Linked DNA regions of Homo sapiens: region 2 is linked to region 1. The links are contacts of gene promoters, found by promoter capture Hi-C in human tissues and cell types (Jung and others, 2019). All regions are on one chromosome and are shown on one strand. The core of a region is centred on a gene start or on the middle of the fragment in contact, and the rest is flanking DNA. Distances in the headings are between cores, read along the strand shown.

What was found. Contacts are between HindIII fragments. The study calls those that stand out against the background at their distance.
Region 2: a contact is called between the fragment with the promoter of ZFP62 here and the fragment with the promoter of OR2V1 in region 1, in 1 of the 25 tissues and cell types used here (heart left ventricle).

Annotation. Positions count from the first base shown.
Region 1 is chr5:181,129,070-181,136,004 of GRCh38, forward strand. It overlaps OR2V1 (olfactory receptor family 2 subfamily V member 1), which reads right to left and starts at 2,100. Exons shown (of 4, transcript NM_001258283.2): 1 at 1,981-2,100; 2 at 1,104-1,146; 3 at 451-506. RefSeq lists an enhancer at 886-1,387. The HindIII fragment of the contact is 10,189 bases long and covers 1-3,655 here.
Region 2 is chr5:180,858,556-180,865,120 of GRCh38, forward strand. It overlaps ZFP62 (ZFP62 zinc finger protein), which reads right to left and starts at 2,721. Exons shown (of 2, transcript NM_001172638.2): 1 at 2,664-2,721. The coding sequence starts at 2,664. RefSeq lists enhancers at 2,301-2,380, 2,858-3,764 and a silencer at 2,481-2,930. The HindIII fragment of the contact is 15,115 bases long and covers 1-6,565 here.

The DNA.
Region 1 (6,935 bases), core at 850-3,349:
AAACAGAGAAAATTAGCCAGGCTATTGTGGCACACATCTGTAGTCCCAGCTACTCAGGTGGCTGAGGTGGAAGGATCGTTTGAGCCTGAAAGTTCAAGCTGGCAGTGATCTATGTTCACGCCACTGCACTCCAGCCTGGGTGACAGAGCGAGCTTTGTCTCCAAAATAAAAATAAAATAAAACATTACCTGGGCGTGGTGGTGTGCACCTGTAGTTCCAGTTACTTGGAAGACTGAGGCAGATCACTTGAGCCTAGGAATTTGAGGCTGCAGTGAGCTACGATCACACCACTGCACTCCAGCCTGAATGATAGAGCTATGACATTGTGTGATTTGGAGGGGGTTTCTACAGGAGCAAATCTGTTCCCACAGCGACCAAGCACCCTCTCAGCCATATCAACCAGCAAAATACACCAGATGCCCCAGCAGAAGAACGGTCTCCCAGCCTTACCACCATGTTCAGAGGCACCAGCCACTTGTGCCTCTCAGGACACAGACGGCAAGATCCTGTCTCAGAAAAAAAAAATTGTATTATGAAACACAACAGAATTTATTCTTGCCTCTCACTGGCTTATCTTCCTGCTCTCTAATTTCAGACCTTTCCGTTGGGTGTTTAGTTAATGGCTTCACTTTTCTTCCTAGAAACCACAACATAGAAGAAGCCACTGCATCTCTGCAATATTCTCCCCGGCACGGGAGGACCCCGTCCCACATCAGCCCCCTCCTTCCTGCTCCTTCACCTTCGCACTCCCCACACATCTGTCCTTGTCTTCCTGCTGTGGACCATCCTCCACCCCAGGGACCTAGAGCCCAGTCTCCAACCCAGACAGAGGGAGGGGGACGGGAAAAGGGGAGTAGGACACCAAGGAAAGAGAGAGAGGTGGGTCAAAGGAAGAGAACGAGAAGAAAGAGTGAGGAGAAACATCACACCAGAAGACGGATGCCCCTCCAAACACCCACACGAAACAGTTACACCCTGATGGAGGCAGACAGCAGGAGGAAGAGCAAGTGCTGATGAACAAGATAAATGGGGACGTGAACCAGCAATGGGAGCAGGAGCTGCAGGGAAGAGAGAGGGGACGACAGGACAAGACCCTCACTCACCTGTGGGTGGGTCCCTGCAGGGGAACAAACTCAGCAGAGTCACCTGTGGAGGAGTTCCTAGCGTCAGAGCCATGCACTCATCCTCCTGTGTTTGCTCCCACTGGGTCGGGGGACAGGAGGAGCCGCAGCCCCAACCTCCTTCCTCAGCCCGCACCGACTACTCATCGGGTTGTGGAGCCCACGGCACCCTCAGCCTCCAGTGGCCCCTCAGGCTCAGAGAGCAAGGCTCACACAGACCACAGCCTCCTCTCAGAGGGAGAAACAGGCTCAGGGAAGGAGCTGGTGCTGGCAGGAGAGGTGGAGCCAGGAGCAGTGCCCTGAGCCCACCCAGGATTCCCACCTGCCTCCAGGACACCCTGGCTCTGGCCAGGTGGCAGAACCGCCTCCCACTGCCCACACAGGTACTGAACCCAGACACGGGGTGAAGAGGGGAAGCTGACTTCAGACCTCAGCTCCCAGGGGACCCCACAGACTCCAGCCCTGGAAGAGGTGCTCCCAAGATTACAATTAAAAAGACCCACAGAGGGACCTGGGGACAGGAACAGGAGCAGGGCCAGTGGGGACAGCGTGAGGAAACCCAGCTGGGGGAGGAGGAACGCAGGGCAGAGGAATACAGGAATGCGGAGGACATTCTTGGTGCCCTACATTGCCCCCCCACACACACATCAGCACTTCCCAGCGACCTCCAGGGCCCTCATGGGGTCTCCATGTCACAGCTGTCCCTTGGGCCCTCGCTGCACCCCACACCTGTCCTTCACCTGCCCCCATTAAGTCAGCCTACATCACCCGTGACATGCAAAGCACTGGGTGGGGGGCTCTGGACACAGTCCTTGCTCAAGGGGTCTACAGCCTCGTGGGAGGGAAAGAACAGCCCCACCTTCACGAGAGTCGGGTGGAGCCTGGGGGCCTGGTTGGGATCCTCATAAACCTGACAGGCGTTTCTGCAGGGTCAGTGTCTTCGTGGGCTGCTGGGGATGGGGCTGAAGTCCACGGTTCTGATGCTGCCACTGCCTTTTACTCTCAAGAGCATTTCACATCGGAGGATGCATTTTATGGTCACTCTGTGGCTATTTATGTCCCATGGAAGCAGGCCATTTTCTCAGGGGCCAATGTGCTTGAAATCCCCTTGCCACATGGCTCAGACACCAGAGGCGTTTGTTCCTTCTGAATCTCGACTTCCTTGTGTGTCTTTGCTACCACACTTTTGGTGTGTGCCCTCTTCCTGATCCAGCTTCCAGCTATGGCAGGAGTCTGAGGAACATGCAGGCGAGGAGGCCATGAGGGAGACACAGGAAGACCGGGGCAGAGAGAGGTAGACTAGGGAGGAAGGGAATGGCCACCTCGCAGCTGGAGTGGGGCAGGCTGGCTTTTGAGGACTGGACCTGCAGCGTCTCCCACTCCTCTCCCACACCGGCCTTCTCCTCTATCCTCCTATGCACCCAACGCTTTCCACACTCACACTTTTTCTCCAGCCACTTCTCCCCACCGGCACTTCCTCTGTCTTCTTCCTCTGTTACTCTTCAGCCTTATCTAATTCCCCAAGACCGAGCTCAAGCCCACCTCCATTCAGATTCCTCCGGAACTCAATCCACCATGACCTCCGCCGGCCATGGCTTCCTGTCTACACTCTGGCAGCGTATGTCCATGGCCTGCTGACAGCTCTTGTATTGCCTTTTATCGTATTATTCAGGGGGAACTTTTGATCATGTGCAAACAAGGAAACACTTTTATTTTTGTACAGCCACTGCTTTTAAATAAGACATCACAATTCATTCTCCACATCTTCATGACATCTCATGCAGATCAAGAGTTTTCTGGTGACTTTGGGTGGTAAGACGAAGGCTCATTTATATATTCTAAAATCCAGTCCATTGAAAATCAAAATTTGAATCTCACATTCAATTCAGTGTTGGTCCCCTTGACACAGCCTAAATCAAGACTAACTTGGGGCTTGGAGTCCCACAGTAGAGAAGGGAGAAGAGTCTGCTAACAGCAATCATATTATGTGTCCTTTCAGATTTTAAGGGAGGTGGGGATACTCTTTGAAATGTCCGTTTTTCTCAAATAAGTTACTAGGATGTCTGAACTGATTTATTTGGAGAACTGCCCTGCATAAATAGAAGCACTGTCTTTTACATGAGTATCTTAATTTAAAAATGTTTAATCTGGCACGGTGGTGCGTGTCTGTGGTCCCAGCTACTCTGGAGGCTGAGGTGGGAGGATCATTTAAGCCCATGAGGTCAGGGCTGCAGTGAGCTGAGATCACACCCCTGCACTTCAGCCTGGGCAACAGAGCCAGACCCTGTCTCAAAAAAAAAAATTATTGTCTAGGACATTCAAATTTTCAACCTCCCCTAATTTTTGTACTAAAATGAAAGCAGCAGCTGTCACATAAATGTCCAGGAAATGTCATTATTGATGTTTCTCTGTTAAGAATTCTTCTTAAATGCTCATCCTATTATTATGTTTTATTCTTGATATTTTAGAGAAACTTACTGATGTATTTACTGAGGAAACTATGTGATTTCTGAAACTTATTTGTAGATAATCCAGTTGTGAAGGGGAGAGGGAGAGGTGGGTGGGGAGTAGACGGAACGGTGTTGACCCTGAGCTGCCAATTGCCAGCACCGGGTGGTGAGTGCAGAGAAGTTCATTATACGATGCTTCCAGGTTTTAGGTGTGTCTAAAATGCTCTATAACAAGAACCTGGAAGGTCACTCCACACTGGTTGAGTAAACTGTAATGTATCCACATAACAGAGTGCCGTACGACTGTAAAAAGAACATCAAGTGTTTCTTCTTCTACACTGGAGGGATCTTCAGGAGGTAAGGAGGGAAAAAGCATGGTGCAGAACAGAACACAGCCTGCTGCTTCTGCCGTGAGAAAGGAGGAAATCTATGGACAAGGTTGTTTTTTACATTTTCAAAATCAACTATAAAAGGATAATTGCAAACTAATAAATACGGTTCCACATAGCAGGAGGGAAGAAATGTGTGTACGAGACAGAGACAGAAACTAGGTTTTTTTTTTCTTTTAAGAGACAGGGTCTTGCTCTGTGGCCCAGGCTGGAGTGCAGCAGTGCCAACATGGCTCACTGCAGCCTCCAACTCCTGAGGCAAGGGCACTCTCCTGAGCTCCAGAGATCCTCCTGCCTCAGCCCCTGAGCAGCTAGGACCCCAGGAGCATGCCACCACACCCGGGTGATTCTTTAATTTTTTGTAGAGATGAGTCTTGCTATGTTGCCCAGGCTGGTCTCAAACTTCTGGCTTCAAGCAGTCACCCTCCTCAGCCTCCCAAAGTGCTGGGATTACAGGCAAGAGCCGCCACTCCTCGCTAAAACTACACATCTGTAAGTGTGCTTTATTTTATAATTGGACTTCAGTACATGTTTCATACAATTAAAAATCAAAATTATATCAAAAAGTAAAAAAATTTCAGCCACTGTGGACTAGTTTGTATAAGAACAACTTTCATGATAAGAACAATTGGAGAAATTGGATAAAATCTAAAAATGAAATATTTTATAAGTGATTATAAAGATGCGGAAACAGCCACGACTCAAGGGTCTGAGACCCGGGGATGTGTTCTCGGCTGAGCTGGACATTGGGTGGTGCTTTTCCTCTCCAGGCATTTGCTGACTCATCCCTGGCACAGGGCCCAGAGGCTGGGAAGCTGAGCGAAGCCTCTTGTCATCTCACAGATCTGGGAGGGAAGAAATTGGGTTTAGAGACCTCAAAAACACCCTGACCTCCAGCTAGGACCCCAGGAACACTACACACTAAGAGTAATTATTAATCAGAAATAGAGAATTCTCACAAAGACTGAACCCAGCTTCACGCGGATCAGCCACAGGTTCACACGCATCAGCCACAGACTGGCTTAAGGAAACCAGCTGCTCATCTAGCTGCCCCACATAAGGAACGGTAAATCTTCTCTAGAAGAAAAGGATATTACCCACAGCTTCAGATTATTCGCATCATTTGTCTGCCATTCAAGAAAAAATTACCAGGCATTCTAGGGACAGGATAAAATGACCAAATTCAAAAAGACAAAAAAGAAACAAACTTAAAGGAGATCCAGACTGGCGTTGCCATTCATGAGCTTTAAATTAACTGTTATCACGATGCTCGAGAGAAAAAAACCAAGACGGATAATTTCACCAGACACCTGTAACCTTTGAAAAGAATAAAACGAAACTCTAGAACTGAAAGTATCAAAAACTAAATAAACAACTCAATAGATAGATTTGGCAATAGTTTAGACACAGATAGTTAGTGAACTGAGTAAGAGGTCAACAGACAAAACCAAGGCTGAAACACAGAGAGAAGAGAATACAAACCATGGAAGGGAGGGTGAGAAACACACGGGCATAGCAAGGTCTCACTTCAGTGCTGCTGGAGTCCCAAAAGTAGAGGGGCAGGAAAGAACAGGATGGAAACAATATTTTTAAAAGATATAGATGGAAGCCGAGGGGTGGTAAAAGCCAGGTCTCATGGCTGATGCCTGTAATCTCAGCACTTTGGGAGGCCAAGGCATGAGGATCACTTGAGGCCAGGAGTTGGAGACCAGCCTGGGCAAAATAGAGAGACCCCATCTCTACAAAAAATTTAAAAATTAGCCAGGTGCAGTGGTGGGCACCTGTGGACCCAGCTGCTTGGGAGACTGAGGCAGGAGGATCACTTAAGCACAGGAGGCTGAGGCTGCAGTGAGCCAAGATTGTGTCACTGCACTCCAGCCTGGGCAAAAGAGTGAGACCCTGTCTCAATTAAAAAAAAAAAGAAAGAAAAGAAAGAAAAAAATATGGGTGGAGCAATTTTTTAAAGTGATGAAAGAGATCAAGTCACAGATTAAGAAACTCTGTTAACTAATAGCAAGAAGAATACAAAGAAGTCCAAGCTAGGCTCACCACAGCATTACAGCTGAGAAGCAAAACAAACAGAAAAGTGTTAGCAGTATCCAGAAGAAAAAACAAAGTACATTAAAAAGTGCAACAAGAAGACTAACAGCAGGCTTTTCAACACACACACACACACACACACACTGCAACAAGAAGACTAACAGCAGGCTTTTCAACACACACACACACACACACACACACACAACAGTGATGAAAGCTAACATGGCACCCTTAACGTCTTGGAATAAAATTACTGCCCACATAGAATTATAGTTCCAACAGAAATATTATTTTAAGATGAAGGCAAATAAAGATGAATTCATGCAAACAAAAACTTTTAGAGTATTTTCTGTCAGAAGATTTGCACCAAAACAAAACAAAACCACAAAAATGAAAAAAGGAACCAAAACAAAGAGCAAAATACAAAACCCTAAAAGGAATTCTACAAGCAGAAGCAGAAGGAAAATGATCCCAGAGGATGGACATGCAAAGAGGGGTCTGGAGAACAACAGAAAGGGTAAATGTGTGAGTGAATCCATCTGCATATTGACAATATCAAATCAGGTTAGTGAGGCTGCGTGGGGTTTGAGATATGTGTAGAATCTAACTGCATAAAAACAACGACAAAGAAGGCGGAGTGGTGGGGAACTAACGCGTTCTAAGGTCCTCGTGAAAGCCAGGAAGTAGCAAAAATACATCTTTATATGAGGCACCAGTAAGTGAGGTATGTGGCTTGTAATTTCCAGGTCGCCACTTAAAGAATAAAGAAAATAACTAAGTTATTAGAGAAAGAAGAAATAAATGGCAAATACCACTTTTTTTCTTTGAGACAGAGTCTCGCTCTGTCACCCAGGCTGGAGTGAGTGCAGTGGTACAATCTCAGCTCACTGCAACCTCCGCCTCCTGGACTCAAGTGATTCTCCTGCCTCAGCTTC
Region 2 (6,565 bases), core at 1,471-3,970, 270 kb before region 1:
CAAGATAGCGCCATTGCACTCCAGCCTCGGTGACAGAGCGAGACTCTGTCTCAAAAAAAAAGAAAGATCACTCACACTAGTTGCAGTGGGAGAATGGATTGAGGCAAGACAGGACTGAGTCCTGGAGTTCCAGGAGTAAGTCACTATAATCCAATCAAGACTGATTTGGTAGCTAAGTCATGTGTCCCTGATGACACAAGTAAGGAATTACCCCCAAAACACAACTCTTCCATATAAAGACCCAGAAACTCCTGAATTTCTTAAAAGTTCTAAAGGCTGAATGGACAAGCCCTTTCTAACCAGTTTTCAACACGCAGCATGAGTCTAATAGCCTGGTTACATCAGCCAAAAGCGTCAGACATAGAACGCCACCCACTCCTTCCAAACTACATACGACCAACAACCTCTGGGCACTCTTCCGAGCTTCTTGTTCATGCTTTATCGCCAAGGCCTAGAAAAGTGAATGCAAACAGTTAAGAACCGGCCCTACATTCTTGCTGTCTCTGCCTCCGAGACTCAGGAGCCACTTTTCAAGAGCCGAGACAACTCGTTAGAGAGGAGCCGTGGCCTGCTCTGGCCGAAAACCCCTTCCTATTAACAGACTGCAACTAGCCCGGAACGACTTTCAATTTGCAGAGTCCAACCATATTCCACAAGACAATCTACCACCTCAAGGTTCACGCGTGGATTCTACACCTTAAATCCTTGGATACTGTCTTTGATTTGGAGATGAGCAAAGAAAGGAAACAAGACAAGAGAAAGTGACAAAATGCTTACCAACCCAGAACAAAGAGTACCTAGGAGGGGCAAAATGTACAAAGGAAAGATGGGACTAAGGAACAGAGAAGTGATATGCAGATGAGAAGAGAATATGGTTTGTGTTCTAGCTACTGTTGCATTTGTCTTATGAATATTAGGAATGTATATGATTAACGTGAGTTGGTTCTATTGCTTAAATATAGAAATAAGAATGAAAGGTGATTTTTCCTTAAAGTAAAAAACTGAAATAGAACATTCTCATGCCAAGTAGTGGAGAAGAGATTTCTAGTTGTCGTAGGGGAGGAGGTGAGCAAAGGCGATACTAAAAGGGAGGCTGATTTTCTGAATCAAACCCGGCAGGGACTGGCTTGGAGTCATTGACACAATTAGTCTATTAGGCTAGTGTAACACTAAATATAGGGACAAGTCTCAGAAGGGAAGAACTACTTACGTCTTATTTGTTCTTTAAACACTCTACATCAGTGATTTTGATAACGACTTGTCATATGTAACAATCTGCCAATAACTGGTTGAGTTAATGTAAAAAAATAATTTTCTAACGGCTGTTTAGTTTCTTCTGTAAAAATCCCTACCCTAATACACTGTATTGAGTATACCATTGTTTGAAGTAACAACAAATTGGAGACAACCCAAATGCCCCCGAATAGATCTAAAAAAGGACAGAACATCGAAAACATCCAAACAATGGCCCATCCAATACTTACCACAGCTCTGTAAAACAAAACGAAACAAAACACAACTTCTGTGTTCTGACATGTAGAGACCAGTAAGATAAAGTGAAAGAATCAAGGAGTTAGAAGGATTTCTATCACCTGTGTGAAAAAAGGGGGAACTAACTAGTTATATTTGCCAGTATTTGCAGAAATTCGGAAAAGATACAAAGGAACAAAAGTGGTTACCTAAGAGGGTAGGGCCTAGGAAGATACCTAAGCGGGATGGGAAGAAATCTTTCACTGGTAACTTTTTATATTTTTAATATCCCAGCCATATGAATATATTACATATTTCATATTATTATTTTTTTTAAGCCTTGAGCTTTCACAAAGAAATGCTCCTGCTGGCCAACTACTTTAAATGTCTTAGAGCAGCACACCCAGCCCTGGCATTCCCCAGTGATCTTTTCCGTCCCACCCCTGGGTTCCCGCAGGCTGTCCCCTGGGTCTAAGAAACTCTTCGACCTTCCTCTCCCTACCTAGTTAACTCCTTTTCTGCTTGCAGGAACACGCGGCAGGTCGCCTCCTCCCCGGTGCACCCGTCTGTATGCAGGTGCGCTTCCCCAGATGAGGGCTAGGACGCACCTCCGGGGTCTCTATTCACACCTGCAGCGGGAGCTTATCATCATCACTCACCGACCAAAAAAAAAAAAGAAAAAAAGGTGGTGGGGTGGAGCGGAGGGGAAGAAGGTCGAATCAGATCACCCCTAGAGGTCTCTCTGCCCTCGCAATCACTCTCAAGTCCTAGAGTACCAAACTTAACTGCAGAGGGAGCACGAAATGGTGGGTATTTTGAAGCGCTAATTTTTAGGGATCCCCTCCCATCCAAAACAGGGATGAATAGTTGAGGAACACCGGAGCGGGGCCCTGGCCCTTCTCGGAACGTTGAGCAGACCTAACATGACGCTGGTCCGTTCAAACGTCGCAGTTGTGGCCCACACAGAGCCCAGTCTGTTCCAGGGGCGCGCCCTGCACCCCTCTGCCTGCCCGAGGTCTTCCCTCCCCTCCGCTCCCCAGAAACGCACCCACTGAGACATGTGCGGGGAGGGGGCACGCTTACTCCCACATCCCGCCCGAGACCCGCGGAGCAGCCAAGACCCGGCCAAAAAGGGGAGGGCGTGGCAGGCAAGGGCCGGGGGCGGGAGCGCGGGCGGCCGCGGACTCACGTACTGGCTGTGGCGGCGCCGCGGGAACCCGGCCGCCAGCGGGACAAAAGCGCGGACCGCACGGCCGGAAGAACCCGCGCCGGCCCTGGGGCACTTCCGCGCCCTCTCTGGGACGCTGGAGGACTGACTCGATGGTCCGGGCCGACGGCGCCGGCGGGAGGGAGGGAGGGGAGCGCCTCCTCGGCTATTTATTGAGGACCAGCTGCAGGGCGCGCGCTCCAGGCGCGGCCAGGAGGCCGTGGGCGGGGCTTTCTGTTTCCGTGCCCATTAGCTTCTGGGGTAGGCTGGGGGAGGGGCACAGGTAATAAAGTAAATACCTGCCTACCTGGTTCCTGAACACGTGATTCATTGCCAGGTGTGGGTGCGGGGACGTTCCCGGAAGTGGGGGCCTGGCGGGAAATGGGGGAATCCGGGAGGGGCGCAGGACAGCGCTGGGCTGGGGACCCATTGCCTTCTCAGCTGGTTGGGGGCTGGCCCGAGAGCACCAGCCCTTCCTGGTCGTCAGCACCAGAAGCGCCCCCGGTTAGGCACTGGGGATGCGGAGTGGGAGCGCGCCCCTGGAGCCGTCCCTGGGACCGGGCCACGCTCCCACCCGGGGCGCCAGCTTGGCAGCGACCTCGCCCCCTGCCCACCCCACCGCCGGTGTCGGCTTCCAAACCCAGGGCCTAAAATGACTTTGAAGACCTTTTTTTTTTTTTTAAATTAATGTTTGTGGGTACATAGTAGGTGTCCCTATTTGTCGAGTACGTGAGATATCTTGATACAGACAGGAATGCAATGCGTAATAATCATATCAGGGTTAATGGCGTGTCCATCACTTCAAGCATTTATCCTTTGTGTTACAAGCAATCAAATTATATTCTTATTTTTAAATATACAACTAAGTTATTGGCTATAGTCAGCCTTTTTTAAAAACAGCAACATCTAAATATTTTTCATATTAAGTTTAAATAATTGCAAAGGGTATATTTTTGGCATGCTGTTAATATTAAGAACAAAATTGCTTTCAAGTGTATCCAATGGAATCTAAATCCCTGAAGATTTGGTATTATCCACTTTTAACAGTCATAAGTTTTACATCTTTTAGGGTTTTTTTCCTTGAACTTTTATGTCCCTCACCGGCTTTTTATTCTACTGTAAAAATATTTTCATTCTATGTGCCTCATTGAATTTTATCCTAGTGTAAAATAGTTCTATGCATTGTTTTATTGTTTATTGTTTATCCTAGCATATATGTCCGTAACGAAAGTAGATTACATTTTTTCTTAGTGTTATTTTCTGGATTATTAGCAAAATTATATAAATATTTCAAAATGTTTACTGTTAATTCTTAGACAAAAAGTGAAGTGCTTTGGAAGCACAACTTGTAATGAGATGGATTTTGTTTTACAGCTCAAATTATTTATATTATTTGAATGAATTTTACATATTGCTGGGGTGAGCCGGTGTTTGGCATCAGCTCGACGCCTATTTTTCATTTTTATACATGTGGGTGCTGAGACACTGTGTTCACTCAAGTAGAGGGAATGGGCGTTTCATTGTAGCAATAAGACCCTTGACGGCATTTGGGCTTCACGCCACAACCCCACCCACCTCGAAGAACGTCTGGGCGAGTTAGCAGGCAGCAGCGACTCCTAAGGAGGAGCAGAGCCCCAGGCCCAGGTCTGCAGCTTTAGGTGAGAGCCCCAGAGCGAGCAGAGGATTGGGAGTTAGAGCTGCCCCCAAAGGATAGTGAGACACATGCAGCTGTTGAGCACTTGAAATGTGGGTAGTGCTGCTGAGGATCTGAATTTTTAATTACATTTAATGTAAATAGCCACATGTGGCTAATGGCCACCTTATTGGATAGCACAGCTCTAGAAGGAGCTTCAGGTGGTCCTCACAGGCCTCCAGAATTAAAGCTGCCCTTAAAGGTTCATGGTAGGCAAAGACTGGGTTTTTACCTCTAGGCAGCAAGATAGAAAAATATTCATATCTGGGTTGGAACACTTCGCTCAATGAAAGGTGGTGTGTGTGTGGAAGGGATTATGGGAAACCCACATAAATCATCTTGAGTCAGATGCTTTTTATTTTATCTTATTATTTATTTGTTTTGAGACAAGCTCTCACTTTGTTGCCCAGGCTGGAGTCAGGGTGGCATGATTATGGCTCCCTGCAGCCTCGATCTCCCAGGTTCAAGGGATCCTCCCACCACAGCCTCCCAAGTAGCTGGGACTACAAGTGCATGCCACAACAGCCCCACTAATTTTTGTCTTTTTTGTAGAGATGGGGCCTCACTATGTTGCCCAGGCTGGCCTTGAACTGCTGGGCTCAAGTGATCCGTCTGTCTTGGCCTCTGAAAGTGTTAGAATTCAGGCGTGAGCCACCGTGCCTGTCGGATCCTTTTGATTTTAGATGACGGCTTTTCCTCCTTGAGCCTTGTTATATTGCAGGCACCTTTCATTTGGCCTGTGTCTACATAACACACACAGACAACAGACACAGACACAGACACAGACACATGCTTGCCTTTCTAACACTTTTAGAGATATCTACACATCAGAGCTGAGTTCAGTAGGGCAGTCATTATTCACATGTAGCTTATGGTAGTCTGAATTGAGATGTGCTGTAAATGTAAAATCCACACCACATTTCTAAGACTTAGGAAAAGAGAATGTAAACTATCTTATTAATAATTTTTAATGTTGATTACATGCTGAAATAATATTTTGACTATATTGGGGTAGATCAAATACATGGTTGCAATGAATTTTACCTGTTTCTTTTTACTTTAAATGCATCTAGAAGATCAGAAGTCACATACATGGCTCACAGTACATTTCCATTGAACAGCACTGCTCTAGGAGGCCAATAGGTGCAGCAGTGAGGTTGTCTGGGTTTGCTCTTGCTTTGCTGGCTCATCTACCTCCCTTTGGAGTGGTTTAAGTACAAATTAATGTTGAGCTAAGCCCATAGGGCTTAATTCCAACTCTGTGTTTAGCCATTGAATTTGGTCACAGATTTATTTTTGTTTTTTTTAGAGACAGCATCTTGCTCTGTCACCCAGGATGGAGCGCAGTGGTGTGATCACATAGCTCACTGCAACCTCAGTCTCCTGGGCTCAAGCAGTCCTCCTGCTTCAGCCTCCTGAGTAGCTAGGACTATAGGTGTGAACCACTAGATCCAGATTAAATATTTTTTTTTTTTTGTAGATGGAGTCTCACTGTGTCCTCCAGGCTGGAGTACAGTGGCACGACCTCGACTCACTGCAACCTCTGCTTCCCAGGTTCAAGCGATTCTCCTGTCTCAGCCTCCCACGTAGCTGGGATTATAGGCACATGCCACCACACCAGGCTAATTTTTGTATTTTGGTAGAGACAAGATTTCACCATGTTGGCCAGGCTGGTCTCAAACTCCTGACCTCAGGTGATCCGCCCACCTTGGCCTCCCAAAGTGCTGGGATTACAGGCGTGAGCCACTGCTCCCGGCCTCAGATTAATTTTTTAATTTTTTTTGCAGCGGTAGGGTCTTGCTGTGTTGACCAGGCTGGTCTCAAATTCCTGGGCCTCAAGTGATCCTCCCACCTTGGCTTCCAAAAGTACTGAGATTACAGGTGTGAACCACCATGCCCAATGGCAAATTTATTTTAAAATAAAATCTCTCCTCCCACTGTACCATAATATCAGTTCATTATGTTAAATCTGGAAAACAGAAAAATTATTCTTAATTTAGTAAACTAGTTTTTGGTCTTGTTGCCCAGACTGGAATGCAGTGGCACGATCTCAGTTCACTGCAACCTCCCCCTCCCAGGTTCAAGGGATTCTCCTGCCTCAGCCTCCTGAGTAGCTGGGATTACAGGCGCACACCACCATGCCCAGCTAAGTTTTTGTATTTTTAGTAGAGATGGGGTTTCATCATGTTGGCCAG